Linked DNA regions of Homo sapiens: regions 1, 3 and 4 are each linked to region 2. The links are contacts of gene promoters, found by promoter capture Hi-C in human tissues and cell types (Jung and others, 2019). All regions are on one chromosome and are shown on one strand. Each heading gives the region's core, a stretch centred on a gene start or on the middle of the fragment in contact. The rest is flanking DNA. Distances are from core to core; before and after follow the strand shown. Region 1 holds the start of LOC105376328 (a long non-coding RNA gene). Region 2 holds the start of ZMYND19 (zinc finger MYND-type containing 19). Region 3 overlaps CACNA1B (calcium voltage-gated channel subunit alpha1 B). Region 4 holds the start of NRARP (NOTCH regulated ankyrin repeat protein).

The links. The method cuts DNA at HindIII sites, captures the fragments that hold promoters and counts their contacts. A contact is called where the count stands out against the background at its distance.
Region 1: a fragment that was not itself captured here is called in contact with the fragment with the promoter of ZMYND19 in region 2 in 1 of the 25 tissues and cell types used here (lymphoblastoid cells).
Region 3: a contact is called between a fragment that was not itself captured here and the fragment with the promoter of ZMYND19 in region 2, in 2 of the 25 tissues and cell types used here (dorsolateral prefrontal cortex and lymphoblastoid cells).
Region 4: a contact is called between the fragment with the promoter of NRARP here and the fragment with the promoter of ZMYND19 in region 2, in 1 of the 25 tissues and cell types used here (lymphoblastoid cells).

The regions. Positions count from the first base shown.
Region 1 is chr9:137,160,193-137,162,892 of GRCh38, reverse strand. GRIN1 (glutamate ionotropic receptor NMDA type subunit 1) reads right to left here. Exons shown (of 20, transcript NM_007327.4): 9 at 1,696-1,837; 10 at 1,477-1,604; 11 at 805-969; 12 at 603-721; 13 at 377-489; 14 at 154-302; 15 at 1-47. It overlaps LOC105376328 (a long non-coding RNA gene), which reads left to right and starts at 1,833. Exons shown (of 3, transcript XR_007061878.1): 1 at 1,833-2,700. RefSeq lists an enhancer at 1-106. The HindIII fragment of the contact is 6,049 bases long and covers 1-2,700 here.
Region 2 is chr9:137,589,070-137,591,784 of GRCh38, reverse strand. ZMYND19 (zinc finger MYND-type containing 19) reads left to right here and starts at 1,273. Exons shown (of 6, transcript NM_138462.3): 1 at 1,273-1,572. The coding sequence starts at 1,522. It overlaps LOC124902318 (a long non-coding RNA gene), which reads left to right. Exons shown (of 3, transcript XR_007061885.1): 3 at 677-746. RefSeq lists silencers at 728-797, 988-1,377, 1,658-1,767, 1,818-1,867 and enhancers at 2,138-2,187, 2,710-2,715. The HindIII fragment of the contact is 9,636 bases long and covers 1-2,715 here.
Region 3 is chr9:137,931,282-137,933,981 of GRCh38, reverse strand. All of the region lies in intron 6 of CACNA1B (calcium voltage-gated channel subunit alpha1 B), which reads right to left. Among named protein-coding and RNA genes, the nearest start is that of CACNA1B-AS1, 14 kb to the left of the region's middle. The HindIII fragment of the contact is 9,868 bases long and covers 1-2,700 here.
Region 4 is chr9:137,300,991-137,303,690 of GRCh38, reverse strand. NRARP (NOTCH regulated ankyrin repeat protein) reads left to right here and starts at 1,420. Exons shown (of 1, transcript NM_001004354.3): 1 at 1,420-2,700. The coding sequence starts at 1,763. The coding sequence ends at 2,107. RefSeq lists silencers at 861-1,500, 2,183-2,262, 2,333-2,392, 2,513-2,562 and an enhancer at 1,203-2,121. The HindIII fragment of the contact is 30,312 bases long and covers 1-2,700 here.

The DNA of each region.
Region 1 (2,700 bases), core at 129-2,628, 430 kb after region 2:
CTCTGCTTCACCGTGGCGTAGATAAACTTGTCCGAGGGGTTCCTCAGCTGCAGGGTCGGAGGGCAGGGATCGCGGCGGCGGCTCCCCAGGCCCCTAACCGAGGCCGACCCCAGCTCACCTCGCATTCCCTCCCCCAGCCCGGCCAGGCCTCACCCGAGGGTCGTTGATGCCCGTGATGCGCTCCTCCGGCCGGTCCAGCACCAGGAAGGCCGCCAGGTTGGCGGTGTAGGAGGCCACGATGATCATGGCAAAGCCGGCCCACACCATGCCCAGGATGCGCGCTGAGAAGCTTCTGGGGGCGCCTGTGGGCGGGCGGGGGGCTCTGTCAGACCCTAGAGGGCCGAGGCGGGACCAGGCGGGCCGGGCGGGGCCTTACCTTCCCCGATGCCGGAGTTGAGCAGGACGCCCCAGGAGAACCACATGGCCGAGGACAGGGTCAGTGCGTCCTCCTCCTCCTCCTCGCTGTTCACCTTGAACCGGCCGAAGGGGCTGCGGGGCGCAGAGGGCGGGCGGGAGAGAGGGCGGGAGAGGCGGCCCTGCCCCGCCCCTGGCCGGCTCCGCGCCCCGCAGATGGAGGTGTCTGAGCCCCGGGTCGCGCTCACCTGAAGCGGTCCAGCAGGTACAGCATCACGGCCACCACGTGCACCGACAGCCCCACCAGCAGCCACAGTGTGCTCTGGAACGGCTGCATGAACGAGTCCAGCGTGCTCCGGGGAATCTCCTGCGGAGGGACGCGAGGTCAGCGCGGCCCGGGCCCTCCAGGGACTCCCCCCGCCGCCACCCCGCCACCCGGCCCCTGCCCACCTTCTTGACCAGAATAGTCAGGCCCTGGTACTTGAAGGGCTTGGAAAACTCGATGTACTGCGCGCGCTCGTTGTTTATGGTTAGCGGCGCCACGATCATGTCTGCCTGCCCGCTGAGCAGCTCGCCCATCATCCCATTCCACTCCTTCTTGTTGCTGTTGTTCACCTGCGAGGCGACAGAGCCGGCGGGCATGCAGGCAGCGTCCTCCCAGCTCCCGCCACAGGTACCCCCGACTGAAGCCGCCCTAGAGCACTCCGGGGGTCTTCTCCCCAAGACCCTACCCAGCTCGCAGGCCCCACCCCACTCCAGCCCCGCCCTGGCTCGCAGACCCCTCCCACGCCGGGCGGGCCCCACCACAGCCAGCAGGCCCCGCCCACTCCACGTCCCGCCCACTCCAGACCCCCGCCTGCAGGCCCTGCCCACTCCGTGCCCCACCCACTCCGACCCCCACGTCAGGCCCCTCCCATGTCAGGCCCCACCCAGCCCTCAGGCCCCGCCCACCCCATGCTTTACCCACGCCAGGACCCAGCCCGCAGGCTCCGCTCACTCCATGCCCCACTCACCCCAGGACCCCCCACCATCTGCAAGCCCCGCCTACTCCATGCCCCACCCACTCCGACCGCGCCTGCAGGCCCCTCTCACGCTGGTCCCCACCCCCGCCGTCCAGCCTACCCGCTCCTGTGTGCCGAACTTGCCATCTGCCACCAGGTGCACCTCGTAGGTGAAGTTCATGGTCCGTGCCAGCTTGATGAGCAGGTCGATGCAAAAGCCGTAGCAACACTGAGGCACCGTGTGGCGGGCTGGGTAGGTGCGGGCGGTAACTGCTGGGCTCCAGACCGCCCCACGCCCCGCGCCCTGCCCCGCGCCCCGCGCCCTGCCCCGCGCACTCACGGCTGCCCGGCGACGTGTCGTTGGGCCCGGTGCAGATCACCTTCTTGACTGGGTCGCCGTTGACTGTGAACTCCTCCTTGCATGTCCCATCACTCAGCGTGGGCTTGACGTACACGAAGGGCTCCTGGTGGATCGTCACAATCTGGGGGGGAAGGGGAGACCCAGCCTGGACCACCGACCTAAGGCTGCCCAGGGCGGCAGTCTCTTCTCAGCTCCCAGCCTCCCCTGGCGCCCCTCTTAATCCCCGACGCACCCCTCACACCCCCCGCCCTGCGCCGCCGGCCACTGCCCCTCTCTGGAGCTTCTTCACGAGCCCAAGTGTTCAGGACACGTCCTCCCCAGCCACCGTCAGCATCGTCTGCCTGCAGCCCCGGGGGGGTGGGGGCTGGGGGCTCAGAAAAGACTCCTGGAGAGCTGGACCCTTCTCTTGGCCACTTTTTCTCCAGTCTTGGCTTAGACATGATTCCCCGCCAGGTGCTGTGGCTCACGCCTGTAATCCCAGCACTTTGGGAGGCCGAGGCGGCCGGATCACGAGGTCAGGAGATCGAGACCATCCTGGCTAACACGGTGAAACCCCGTCTCTACTGAAAATACAAAAAAATTAGCCGGGCGTGGTGGTGGGCACCTGTAGTCCCAGCTACTCAGGAGGCTGAGGCAGGAGAATGGCGTGAACCCGGGAGGCGGAGCTTGCAGTGAGCGGAGACCGCGCCACTGCACTCCAGCCTGGGCGACAGAGCGAGACTCTGTCTCAAAAAAAAAAAGACATGATTCCCTCCAGCAGAGGAGCCGCTGATGTCCCGTGTATGCCAGGCATCTTCCTGGGGTGAGAAACAGCCCAGCCTGCAGGCTGACCCCCACCCTGCTGTGCCACGAGGACAGGGGCATGTCCACAAAGCCGACCCTGCACCTGCACAGGACCTGGGACCCGTGGGGCCACCCACCCGTGCCTCCCTTCATCCCGGCGCACTGCCTGTCCCGGCCCCCAGTCCCGAAGCCCTCAGGCTT
Region 2 (2,715 bases), core at 24-2,523:
GTCTCAGGCAGGCCAGGACTCATCAGCCCCTTCAGTCCTCTAGGGTGTCTGGGGTACTGGCAAGTACCAGGGGACCCAGAGATGGAACGTCTGGGCTCACTCATGTACACCCTTTGCAGGCTGGGGCACGGTGGCTCATGCCTGTAATCCCAGCACTTTGGGAGGCCGAGGTGGGCCGATCACCTCAGGTTGGGAGTTCGAGACCATCCTGGCCAATATGGAAAAACCTCACTTCTACTAAAAATACAAAAATTAGCCGGACATGGTGGCGCGTGCCTGTAGTCCCAGCTACTCGGGAGGCTGAGGCAGGAGAGTCGCTTGAACCCGAGAGGCAGAGGCTGCAGTGAGCCGAGATCGTGCCACTGCACTCTAGCCTGGGTGACAGAGCAAAACTCTGACTCAAAAAAAAAAAAAAAAAAAGCAAGAAAAGAAAACGGAACCCAGCAAGCCAGAAAGGAGCCTGTGCAGCTCCTCAGGTGCAGGAGTCGCCCTTGAGGCAGGGTGAGGCCTCCTCACGGGCGACTGGACACCGGCGGAGCAGGACGCAGGACCTAGCCCCGTTCGCTCCAGGCTGCAGGGGAGCCACGCTGCCCACCACGGCGTACCCAGTCCCTCCCTGAGCGGGTCTCGGCTTTCCCGCGGAGCCTAATGGGCCTCACTGGAGTTCCGTTTCCAGACGCCTTGGACCAGGCTGCTCTGGAGGTCAGCCGCCCCCGAGGCTGAAGAGCCGGCGGCTCGGAGAAGGCTGCGCGGGAGGCCGCGCCCTCCGGGTCGCGTGGGCCGGGCGTCCGCTGTCTCTCCAGAAACACCCGCGTCCCGCGGCAACGGCCTCTTCCTAGCCCGCCTCGCCCGCTCCCCGCCCGCCCAGAGGGCCCCGCACGAGCTCCGTCCACCTCCTCCTTCCGCGCTCGGGGCCAGGACGGCGGCGGGAAACAGCTTACGGAGGCTACCGCAAGGGAGGCGAAAAGCAGCCAGCTCGCAGAGCTCCACGGACCCGGCGCGAGTCCCCAGCCACACTCCGCACTGCCCCTCTAGGCGCGGCGCCGCTGCCCGCACAAAGCTTCCCGCGAAACTGACGTCGGCGCGCGCAGGCACCGCCCCCGGCCTCGCCCCTCCCCCGCGCTCGCCCCGCTCCCCAGAGCGCCGGCGCACTCGCCCTCCTCCTATTGGTTGTTGCGGGGCGGCGCGCGCCGGTCGGCGCCGTGCGCGCCTAGCCATTGGCCGAGCGGCGGCGGGCCGGGGGGTGTGTCCGGGGCTGCGCCCCGCCCCTCCGCTCCGCTCGCTGTGGTGCGCGCGGTGGCGGTGGCGGCGGCGGCGGCGGCGCGTGGCAGGTCCGGCGGGCGCGAGGCGGCGGCGGAGGCCCGAGCCCGGCCCAGCCTCGTCCCGCCCGGAGCCCGCCTGGCTGCTACCCCGACCCCGGCTCCGGTCCCGTCCTGTCCCGGCGCGCCGCGGCCTCGCCCCGGCCCCCGCTCGGCGCCTCCCGAGGGAGCGGCGCTGCCGGCCGAGAGCGCAGGCCCGGCCATGACCGACTTCAAATTGGGTATCGTGCGGCTCGGCCGGGTGGCCGGGAAGGTGAGCGGCGCGGAGCCCGCGACCCGGCCCGTCTCGCCCGTCCAGGCCTCCGCGCGGGGCCGGGGGCGGTTGTGCGGGCGGCGGCCGGGGCGGGGGCGCGGAGCCCGGGATGGGCCCCAGCGGGGCGGGGGACGCTGCGCGGGCCCGGCTGCTGGCCCCGCGCGGGTGCAGCTTCCTCTCGCAGGCCGGCGGGCACGCACCCCTCGGCTCTGGGGTGCACCTGGCCACCCTCGGCCCTGCCCTGCCGGAGGTGGAGGCCACGGCCCTGTCCCGAGCCGGGTGCGGAGATGCGTGGCTCGAGCCCGAGCCGCGTTCTCCCGGAGCCCTCCCAGTGGTGTCGGCGATCCGGGGCCTAGCGCGGCGTCCGGGCTGCCAGTGCGGCCACACGGTTTAAACACAGCGCCCTTTCCGAGGCAGCGCCACTTCCACACCTCTCGCCGAGGCGGGTCTGGTGTGGGCTCTTCTGTGCCTCCCAGTTCTCAGCAGGGCTTCAGGCTCGTTTTAACGCTGCCAGGGGTTGGCCACGTTAGGCTGAGCCTCAGACTCGGAGCAGAGAGGAAGAAGCCTGGGCCCTGATGCTGCAGACTCAGGGCCTTCCTCGACTTCTCTTCTTACTTGGCCCCCACGCTCCACGTTTGAGGCTGGGGATTCCATGGCACCTGTGGGCATTGAGGCTTGGCGGTTTCTCGGAGCCACCTGTGCAGCTGCACCAGCCAGGGTCCTTACCCGGATGGGAGCCCTGTTCCCGTCACCAGCGGCTGCGGCTTTTGGTGGGAGAGAGGAGCCGAGGCAGTGTCAGGCGGCGTCAGGTAAAACAGGTTCAGATCCCAGAAGAAAAACTGCCAAGAGGGAGACTGGCCCGTTCTGGGACCTGTTCCTGTTTCCTGCCCCTGCTGCAAGAGCATAGGCAGGGCCTGCTGGGGAGGAGGCTTTTTTCCACCAGGGAAGGGTGGGCTCTCCAGTCAGGTCGGAGACCAGAGACCCCTTCTAACTCCACCCATGATGGCATTGTCATCCCTTACAGCTTTTCTTTGGAACATTTCAGATGGACAAAAAGCTAAAAAGGGTAATCAGTGAGTAGCTCAGCTTAATAAACACACCCTAATCAAAACCTTCTGGCTCTTCTGCCTCAGCCCCGGCCCC
Region 3 (2,700 bases), core at 9-2,508, 340 kb before region 2:
TATAACAAGCATTCCTGACAGCATAGGTATCCACCCCCTGAAGTTCCCATTCTATAGGACAAAATAACAAATAAGTAATTTTTTTTTTGTTCCATAATGGTCACCCACAGCCTGTGTATACAGGAACCATGTCTTACTAGCAATCAGCTTTATTTCACAACAGAGCTTCCCTTTACCCCTCCAGCAATTAGTGGATTCTGGGTATTTATTAAGAACTTTAAATTTAACACAAAGACTTAAATACCACCAGCCCAGCCCTGGCAAAGGACTGTTGGTTTTGTTTATCTCCATCATCATCTAAATATACTGCCATCCTGATCCCAGCCCAATCTTGGGCCCTTAAGGAAATGACCTATCACCCTAACTACAAAGGAGGAACTCTCTTCAAACTAATGAGCCTGGATGACATACATGAATTCAAAATCATGGAAATGACAAGGGTTACAATGACAGGATAAGCAGTAAACCTACTCCAATCCCATCTGAGCAACCTTTCTGGAGTTGCATCCCCTCAGAAACCAATTTGGGGCCCAATATAAATGTACACAGAGCTAAAATTGCAGGTGCCACTTTGTATTAACAGAAGCGAAAATTCTGGTCCGGTCCTTGGAACCTTGAAAAGTCATCAATGTGCCGGACGCGGTGACTCACACCTGTAATCTCAGCACTTTGGGAGGCCAAGGCGGGCAGATCATGAGGTCAGGAGATTTGAGACCACTCTGGCTAACACAGTGAAACCCCATTTCTACTAAAAATACAAAAAACTCACACCTGTAATCCCAGCACTCTGGGAGGCCGAGGCAGGCAGATCATGAGGTCAGAAGATTTGAGACCATTCTGGCTAACACAGTGAAACCCCATTTCTACTAAAAATACAAAAAACTAGCCGGGCGTGGTGGCACGCGCCTGTAGTCCCAGCTACTCAGGAGGCTGAGGCAGAAGAATCGCTCGAACCTGGGAGGTGGAGGTTGCAGTGAGCTGAGATCGCACCATTGCACTCCAGCCTAGGCGACAGAGAGAGACTCCATCTCAAAAAATATAATAAATAAATAAATAAATAAATAAAAGTAAAGATAAAATAAAGTCATCAATGCAACTACACCCTGGAAGTTAATCCTTCACTCGATTACGTAAGCTATACAGTTACCCAAACCGCATCATTTAGATAACCTGTACGGTTTTCATGGAAACCATCCCTGGTTAAGGGCTTTAAAGGATGGACAGCCTAAGTATGGTCGAGGCAGGCCCACTAGCTGCATTCACGGTTTCCCTTGTGAAGAATGTACTAATCCTGAGACGTCTAGTTGCCTTTTGGTTCCCCAGTATGAAAATACCTCTGGGTGATTGTTACTGGACACTAAGCCTAACTACCTCCACTGGGAAAAGAGAACTGCTGGGGCAACTCAAGATACTTCCCAAGATCCTTTCCAGCCTTTAACCAGGGCCACCTTAGCAAAGACCTCAACCATATGGGAAAGTGAAAACAACAAGCTAGCCCATGTGTTCACCATAGAAAACAAGTTCTGTCTTGAAAAACAAGGAGCCTTTTTCCCGTGCGGGACCAGTTCCTACTTAGATTTACCAGCCAACTGGACTGGAACCTGTAACTTGTTATTTAGCTCCCAAAATTAATGTAGCTCCCAACAACCAATTCTTCACTATACCTTTAACTGCAACCACCAGACACAAATGAGCCATCCAACTCACACCCCTTTTGGTTGGGTTAGGAAGAACAGCAAGAGTAGAAACGGGAGTTAGCAGGCTTGCAATCTCCCTATCCTATCACTAACTTGTCCAGAGATTTTATGGAAAGCTCAGAAGACACTGCCCAAAGTATCGTCGCCATACAAAATCAGACAGACTCCTTGGCAGCAGTCACTTTACAGAATTGAAGGGGACTGGATCTCCTAACTGCTTAAAAAGGTGGCTTATGTCTTTTTCTAGAGGAAAAATGCTGTTTTTATGTCAACTAATCAGGATTAGTAAGGGATGCCGCCTGGAAATTAGCTGACTGGGCCCCTAAGATACGACAACAGCTGTCTGAGTCATGGGGCTCCTGGTCAGAAATGCTAAGTTGAGGTGCATGGCTCCTTCCTCTAGCCGGCCCATCACTAATGACTATATTTGCCTTGGTTTTTGGACCATGTTCATTAAATCTCTTAAACAAATTCATTTCCTCTCGCCCAGAGACCATCAAGCTTCAGATGATCATGAGACAAGGTTTCCAGCCAGTTCCAGGTAAAGACACCACCCCTGGCCATCCAGCAACTACCATGTCTCCACTAGACAGAGCAGGGTGAGAGTTCCATGATCCCCAATAGGTAGGAACTGTGCCCAAATCAGCATGAAGCAGTTACTGAAGAAAAAACCATCAGTCCCTCGGCCTCCTATAAAGATGATGGGGATCACATCTCGGGGGAAATGAGGCAGGAGAATAGGGTCTGGAGGCAAGGAACCTAAGGCCGATTTGTGCTGACTTCCTAGAACTAAATCAAAAGGAAAACTCCACCTCTCCACATCCAAGTAACAAAAGAAGAGGCTACTCCCTTTGCAACGCCCCCCATTCCACTGTATCGCAGACGAAAAATGGAAAGTACCTGATTGGTCGCCTCCCATGACCAATCAGAATGGTAGAGGGCCTGGTCTTCATTTACACAGGGTGTAAGCAGCTAACCAATGGGAAACCTCTAGAGAGTATTT
Region 4 (2,700 bases), core at 171-2,670, 290 kb after region 2:
AGAGCTCCTGGGAGAAGCAGTGAGGCCCAAAGGAGAGAGCTGAACAGAACCAGCGGGATCACGGCCCCAGGAAGACCAGAGCGAGCTCTGAGCTGTGCCTTTGAGGGACAGAGGTTCCCAGCCCACCAGGAGGACCCCAGGGCCTCAGGACCCTGCTCCGGTCAGCCAGGGTCTGTCCCGAAGGGAGCCTGCCCAGTTTTTCCTGCCAGTATGGGCACAGCATGGGGTGGGGACACACCCCTGTGGGGAGCCGGATGTGGGGACATGGAGCTGGTGGGCGGAAGCCTCCTCAGACAAGGCCTGGCATGGGGGTCTCCCCAGCCCGAGCTCAGAGCTGCCTGCGCGGAATTCCCGGCTTGGCTTCAGAAGGAATTCAAGCCCCAGCCTGCCTGGCCTCCTGCTCCGCGCCTGAGAATCACTCCTCCTTAATTTCCAACGACCACAGCGAGTTGTAAACTGTAAAACTCTAATGAGGAAATGCGCTGTGCTTCCCCTGCTAGTGCCTCCCGGTCAATTGTTAGAGTGGTCAATAAAAATGGGTTTTACAGTTTGGAAGCCAGGCGTTTCAGAATTCCCTTCTGGCCCTGGCGCCACACCTAGCCCTGCTCACCTGGGCAGGACCTATGTGTCCCGCATGCTGGTGCGTGGGCAGCAGAGGGAGGCAGGCCGCGGTCCCGACCCTCCCGCTGCGCCCCGGCCCGGGGCTTCCTCCCGAGAGGACAGCGGAACCCCCTTCACCGCCAGGCGATAGAAGCCGCGGTGGCCGGCCGGAGGCCCCTCGCATCAGTACGGTTGGGGCACACATAGGCTGAGCCGGCGGCCATGAGGCTGCCCGCGCGCGGGAAGGACCCGCGTGGCTGAAGGCCCCACGTCAGGGCCTGGAGTTGCCACCCGCGTGGACGGTGAGCCCGGAGGCGCGGGCTGGCCGGGGTCGCCGCGCGCCTCTCCGCTCAGAGGGGTCTCTCCTTCGCCACGGGCCTGAGATGCCCGCGAACCCCCTGCCCGGGAGAGGCCGCCCTCGGGGCCACCTGGCGGTCGCGCTCGGGTACCGGGCAAGGCCTGGGTCTGGCTGCTGAGGGAGCTTGGAATTCCCCGGGTGGCCGGAGGGAGAAGGGGCGGGACGACCGCAAAGAGACGCGGAGCGCCCGGGGGGCGCGCGGACGGCGGCGGCGACGGAGCTGGACCCCCCCGGCGGCCACCTGGCCTCCCCCGCCCAGGCGCTGCCGGCGACCAGCGCCCCCTGCCGCGAAGCGCGCCGCCGCCGGGACCCGCCCCCGGACCCCTGCGCACGGCACCGCCCACGCCCCGCCCCCATGTGGGCGCGGCCCAATCCCGGGGCCGCCGGCGCGCGCGTCACGGGCTGCCATTGTTATGCAAATATAAAGAAGGTAAAAGGCGCCCCGGCGCGGCGGGCGAGCTAGTGCTGCGGCGCGTGGGGAGGCGCCTTGGGACCGCGTGGGAGCCGCAGCCGAACCGAGTAGGGACCGGGACCGCGCGGCGCCGCCGTCCCCGGCCGGGCCCGGCCCCCGCGAGCCGAGCGCGCGCCCCCGTCGCCCACCCGGGCGCGGCTGGATGCGGCGGGGTCCCCGCGGCGGCGACCCCCGGCCCCGAGCGCCCGGAGCGCCCAGAGGCGGCGTGCGGGGCCCGGGGACGCCGCGCCCTCCATGCGCCGAGGCGCGCCCCGAGACAGCCGGGGGCCCGCGCCGCAGCCGCCGCCCGCGCTGAGCCCCGGCCCGGCCCGCGGCCCGCGCCCGGCGGCAGCATGAGCCAGGCCGAGCTGTCCACCTGCTCCGCGCCGCAGACGCAGCGCATCTTCCAGGAGGCTGTGCGCAAGGGCAACACGCAGGAGCTGCAGTCGCTGCTGCAGAACATGACCAACTGCGAGTTCAACGTGAACTCGTTCGGGCCCGAGGGCCAGACGGCGCTGCACCAGTCGGTCATCGACGGCAACCTGGAGCTCGTGAAGCTGCTGGTCAAGTTCGGCGCCGACATCCGCCTGGCCAACCGCGACGGCTGGAGCGCGCTGCACATCGCCGCGTTCGGTGGCCACCAGGACATCGTGCTCTATCTCATCACCAAGGCGAAGTACGCGGCCAGCGGCCGGTGATGCCCGCCGGGACCCCGGACCCCGGCCCTGCGCCCGCGTCGTCTCTGCTGTACCTTCCCGCCAACTACCTCGGTGCGCGCCCGGCTCGCAGGCCCCGCCAGAAGGCCCGTGGCCACGGCGAATACGGCGCGTGCGTCCCGGCCCCAGGGTCCGGCAGCCCCGCCGGCCGAGCGCCTCCCTGCGGCCTAGCCGGGCCCGGCCGGGCCGGAGCAGCTTCCCACGGCCCCCACCCGCTCGCCTGCCCGCCGCCTCGCGGGTGGGGGCGGGGCGCGGGCTCCAGCCCCTTTTGAAATTTGAGTCTCGCAACCAGCAAGTTCGGAATCCCGAGATACCGGATCCTCTGCGCAAAATGTTTTCTCCCGAAGGTGAAAGGCGGGCGGCGGGAGCCGAAGGCGGACTCGGAGCGCTCCGCCGCCGCCTTCAGGACCCGCCCGCAGGCCCGGGACGCGCCGATGCCGGCTGCAGCCGAGGAGCAGCCCCGAGGTCCGAGGTCCGCGCCGCTGGCGCGCGGCCGAGGAGACGCTCGGCTGTTCGCTGTTGCTGGTGTTCTAAACTATTTATCTTGTGTGTGTACATTTGTGGGTGGAGTTTGT